Linked DNA regions of Homo sapiens: region 1 is linked to region 2. Evidence: promoter capture Hi-C in 16 types of primary human blood cells and fetal thymus (Javierre and others, 2016). All regions are on one chromosome and are shown on one strand. The core of a region is centred on a gene start or on the middle of the fragment in contact, and the rest is flanking DNA. Distances in the headings are between cores, read along the strand shown.

What was found. Contacts are between HindIII fragments. The CHiCAGO score rates a contact against its expected background, and 5 or more counts as called.
Region 1: a fragment that was not itself captured here is called in contact with the fragment with the promoter of EGFR-AS1 in region 2 in 1 of 17 cell types (endothelial precursors); the score reaches 9.1 in endothelial precursors.

What each region holds. Positions count from the first base shown.
Region 1 is chr7:54,992,654-54,995,353 of GRCh38, forward strand. LOC105375284 (a long non-coding RNA gene) reads right to left here. Exons shown (of 4, transcript XR_007060329.1): 2 at 2,076-2,700; 3 at 1,703-1,804; 4 at 1,006-1,155. Among named protein-coding and RNA genes, the nearest start is that of EGFR, 25 kb to the right of the region's middle. The HindIII fragment of the contact is 3,455 bases long and covers 1-2,700 here.
Region 2 is chr7:55,187,604-55,190,303 of GRCh38, forward strand. EGFR-AS1 (EGFR antisense RNA 1) reads right to left here and starts at 1,346. Exons shown (of 2, transcript NR_047551.1): 1 at 1,254-1,346. All of the region lies in intron 20 of EGFR (epidermal growth factor receptor), which reads left to right. The HindIII fragment of the contact is 13,947 bases long and covers 1-2,700 here.

The sequences.
Region 1 (2,700 bases), core at 139-2,638, 190 kb before region 2:
ATGTCATCTTAATTATAAATGTCACAATAGCAATAACAAGGTTGGGCGTGGTGGCTCATGCCTGTAATCCCAGCACTTTGGGAGGCCGAGGCAGGCAGATCACCTAAGGTCAGGAGTTCGAGACCAGTCTGGCCAATGCGGTGAAATCCTGTTTCTACTAAAAGTATAAAAATTAGCTGGGCATGATGGTGGGCGCCTGTAATCCCAGCTACTTGGGAGGCTGAGGCAGGAGAATTGCTTGAATCCAGGAGGTGAAGGTTGCAGTGAGCTGAGATTGCGCCATTGCACTACAGCCTGGACGACAAGAGCAAAACTCTATCTAAAAAAAAAAATAAAAAAAAAAATAACAATGACTACCATCTGTGGAATATTTTCATGTCATAGCTGCTTTATATGCACCAACTCTAATCCACCCGATCCAATGCAGGAAGTGAAATTCTTTCTCATTGTAGTGACTACAGTAGTCCTATGTGAAATATGTAAGTGTATTTCCAGGGCCTCCACAGGTTCACTTGTAAATTTAGACTAGCCTTAAAAATGCCTTATTTACCCACAAAGACAGCACTTCCAAGCTGAAAGAGCAACAACAGTTGCTGGTGTGCAATCTCATTTTTAAAAAGAGAGAATTAGGGCCAAAATAGATTACGCAATTTGCTCAAAGCCACACAGTGACCCAAGGTCTTGGGGTCAGCCTGCCCTAAGCCTGTTGATTGCTCTCTAGGGCTTTCTACAACTTCCACCACCTTTCAATCAGTGCCACTACAATTAGCTTTCAGTAGGGGAGGCTGCTTGGAGCTTTCTTGCCCCTCATACCTCTTCCCAGTTCTTGCTAGGGAGCTCTCTGGAAAGCTATAACAGAAATATAGTATACATTATGTAAATATTCCTTTTCTGTCTTGAATTCATACATAGTTCCTGCCAGAGAGATGCAAATTTGTCCTAAAACTCTCTTGGGCCCTCTTTGGGGCTGAAGTCTTTGTTTTCTGAAGAGAAAGACATTTTCTGTAATTTTACCACACAATGAGAAGAGCATTTTAATAACAAGAGCAAAATCATCTCAAGCTCGCATTTCTCCCACATTCTTCTGTCTCTCCAGTAGGCCCTGGAGTGGAGTGATCTGAAGCAGGGTGGCATTCTTGGGGTAGAGGATGTAATCTACAATGATAAAAAAGGACTCCTGTGTTAGAGATACTATAACAAAGAGGCAAGAAACACAATCACTCCTTTTTTTTTTTTTTTTTTTTTTGAGATGGAGTCTCGCTCTGTCGCCCAGGCTGGAGTGCAGTGGCGCTATCTCAGCTCCCTGCAAGCTCTGCCTCCCAGGTTCAAGCCATTCTCCTGCCTCAGCCTCCCAAGTAGCTGGGACTACAGGCACCTGCCACCACGCCCAGCTAATTTTTTGTATTTTTAGTAGAGACGGGGTTTCACCGTGTAAGCCAGGATGGTCTCGACCTCCTGACCTCGGAACCACAATCACTCTTGATTCTCTTTAAAGACAAAATCATTTTAGAATTTGCTTCCCTTTTACCCACCATCAAACTCTCTTGTGGGAGGGGAAAGTTAATTTCAGTTGAAACAGTGACATCCCTGGAAGATAAGTTGCTATAAAAACACTCTTCTTCTGTTCCTTCTCCTGTGTGCCCAGTCAAGCTGAAGGTCAAATACATGGAAAAGATCTCCAAGTTTCTAAATCAGTGCTTACCAAGTAGCCATGCACTTGACAGGAGAGATGAGACACTTGCATATTTTTCCACCCCATTTCCTTTTACATCAAACACAATGCTCCTAAGCTGGGGTGTCTGTCCTGGAGAATGCAAAGATAGAGATCCTCATTTGGGTGACGAGGGAGGAACACCTTATCGCATGGGAGAAGGGGCAGTCATCAGTGGAGGGACAGAAAACCACATCAGATAGAGAGCTCGTCAGTCCATTTGCCCAGGGCTCTCCCAGGCCTACAGTGAATCCCGTACACCCTAGGGCCCTACAGATTTTGGCCACCTAATTTACAAAGGTAACCTGTGTCATAATTGCTTAGGATTGCACAGCAACACCTCACTTGCCCAGAGGCCACTTACCTAGAACCTCACTTGTCCAGAACTTAACCAAGATCTCAGGAACAAAACTGGTCTCTGAGAAGTTTAATGAGTGCACTAGTACACAGCTCAGGCTCTGAAGTTTGGTTTACGACACTCACAGGAGAGACCTCATCCAAAGCCAATGTCATCCTTATGTAATTCTAACCAGCACAATTGTTAGATTTCTCAGCCACAAATAGATTAGAAATCTCAAGTGTTTAAAAGGTGATGATTGACTTGCTCACCTGGCAGATGATGAAAAGGAAAGAAAAACATTATAAGTTAGTGAATGCATAGCCACCCAGATGTAGAATCAATGTAGAGGCGAATACACCTGCACCTCCGTAGCTTCTCGGGGGTCTCCACAGATAGCTCCATCTATCAATGAATGCCAAGAAGGACGACTGCCCTTGGTTCCATCATGCCCTTTAGATAGCAGCTTATACATCAAATTTTCAGAAAAACCTTCCTCCATGGCTTCGCTTGAAGCATCCTGAGGCCCTCATTCTGTTTCTCAGCCCCTGCTGTTTCCTTCCCAGTGCCTATCACAGTTCACAGTCATGTTCTTCATGACTCTCCTGTGTTCCACACTTGCCTACCTCCCGTGCATGTGGCACGTGGCCGT
Region 2 (2,700 bases), core at 96-2,595:
GCCTGGGAAGGTGGCAAGCTGGCCTGAGGAACAGACTCTTCCATTTTTTAGGGAGCTCAAGGCCACAGATGCTCTGAGATCTGGAGTCCAGAGACAGGAGCGGAGGCTTCTCCTGGTGACCACTCTGCTTAAAAACTTCATCAGATCCGTAGTTTCAGAGCCCCCCTGAACCCCATCCCTTACCTCTACCAGTTGCAGGTGGGTCTCTGGGGTGGGGCTGCCCTCCCCACCAGCACCCCAAGGGCTAAAAGGTTGAGGGGAGAACACCATCATTTGTACAGGGGGATCCTGGAAGATGAGGCCTGAGAAAGCCCTGCGGGGCCCCTCACCTTCTCCCTAGCTGTGGCCAAGAGTGTCTGGCCTTGCCTGCCTCAGGACCAGCCCAAAGTGGAGGTGAGAGGTGAGCCCCAGCCCCCAGGGGAAGGGTGATGGTGGTCTTGGTCTCAGCATGGTTCTGGTAGAGGTGGGTTATTTTGAAGATGATGAACCTTAAGCCTCTTTCTGATCTTGCTTTAAATAAATACTTCTGAACAACAGCAACAACAGAATAGTGTTGATAGGAAAGCCCTCCACTCCACCAGAACCACGCGGCCTTCTCGTCCTCCCCTCCTCCACTTCCTTCCTAAGTCACTGCTCCATGAGCTCTTCCACAGGAGATTTACAAAATAGAACACAAACAATCCAGTTCCCGCCTCTCACTCTGAACTCCTCCCAAGACTCGTGGGGTGCGGCAGCCCCTGGGAACACCCAGCCCTTCAAGGTCAAACACAGCCCCCGCCCCTCACTCTGGGGTACCCTGCCAGAATAAGCCCCGACAGCCATGTGGAGCAGAGCCTTCTTTTTTGTAAGTGGAAGTTCCAGGCTGGCTTTTCAAATCCCCTTTTAACCTCAGTGCTGTATTTCAAAATTCATTCCAGTTTTCCTGTAGTAATTAACAAAAATAAATATTTTAATTTCAATTAAAGTGAGGGTCTCGGAGAAGAAGCAGGAACTGAGTTTCCTGAGAGGCCCCGCTGAGGCTTTGTTGATATTTCTTCCTGCGACCTCTGCTCGGACCCTGGGAGCTCACAGGCCGTATCGCAGCTCTTATCTTTGGGGACCAGTTAAAGCATAACTGCGCCAGGCACAGAGTTGTCCTTTCAAATGTGCCGGCAGTGGGACGGAGACCCATGCGTCAAGTCTCCTCTAAGTTCACATGGGATTCTCTCCTTGTCCCAAAGCTGTCTCTGACTTAAAACCCTCCAACTGATTACCTGAATTCCAGAATATGTCCTGTGCTCTCTGCCCTTTCCCACGCCTTTGGTGAAGACCGGTGTTCTGAGGAAACAGACACTGTGTAGAAATGGCTCAGGTCCTTTAAAGCCCTGGTGTGAGGAGTGGGGAAGGGCTGGGCCAGAGGTCAGCTGGATTTGTTAGATTGACAGAGTGACGCGGACTTCCCCAGAGGCACGGGACCAAGGTGCATGCTCACGCTGTCTCATGCTCTCACACATAATGTGTGTGTGTGTGTGTGTGTATATATATATACACATATACATATATATATATACACACATATGCATATATATAAAACCCCAAGCAGCCTCTGGCTTAGCAGGTGCATTTCCCAGCAGGGCAATTAAAGCCATGGTCCCAGTAGTGGTCTTGGGGTCTCAGGGTATTTGGTCTGTGCAGCCACATGCTTCAGTCTCTGGACCCCAGGTCATCTAACGAGGTGGTCGTGTGGGGACTGGGATAGAAAAGGTGTCTGCACGGACGTGTGTGAAAGGGCTGGCACATCGCCAGTGCTCAGCACTGTCAGCTGCTATCACCAGTCATTCAATCATTCATTCATTCAGTTGTTCATTCTTCAACAGGCCGTTTTAAAAATGTGCCCAGTATACCAAAATCTCCGCTAAGCATTTAAAGAGGCAGAATGAAAGTTAGCAGTGGTGGTGAAACGAAGCTGGGAATGTGCTCTGAGGGCCTCCTTGTGGGCTTAATGAATATGTAGAAACCACGCATTTTAAATAGAGAGGGAGAAAGGGAGAGGTTCCTGGTCCTCTGCATGGGGACTTGTGTGTGGCTCTTTACTGTAGGCCTGTGCCACTCCTGCTCAACAGCTACCACAGAGGACGCCTTCAACAAATGTGAAGAACGAACAAAAGGTACAAATGTGAAGAACGAACAGGGTAGAAAGAAAGGAGAAAGCAAGGGTGAGGGTGAGAAATCAAGGGACAGAGAAGAGAGAAGAGGAGATAGCCTGGGAGTTCACACAGCCAAGAAGGTAGACACTCAGTTGAACCAGCAAGAGGCTGAGCCTAACTCTCCCTTTCGAATGGGCAGGAGTTCATGATATTTAATAAACAGAGGCCTTGCTCTGTAAGAGACAGGGTACCAGGCAGAGAGCAAGTCAGCATCGCAGGAGTCAAACGAGGCAGACAGCGGGGGCAGGGAGCTTGCCTCTGAAGGAGACCCAGGCTGCCAGAGTAGCAGGGAGTCTGGGCCAGTCCTCTTTTGGGAAGCGCTTCCTCGGCTTCTGCCCCCCCTCTCCTCTCCCTTTCCACCCACCATCCTGACATAATACTTCCTAATCTGGAAGTGTTGTCCAGAGAAGAACCTGCTCATTTCCTCTTAAGTAGGCAGGGAAGCACTAACGTCCAGCAGCATCGGAAACCCGTAGGAGCGCTCTCGGCAGTGCAGGGTGAGGGGACAGTCCAT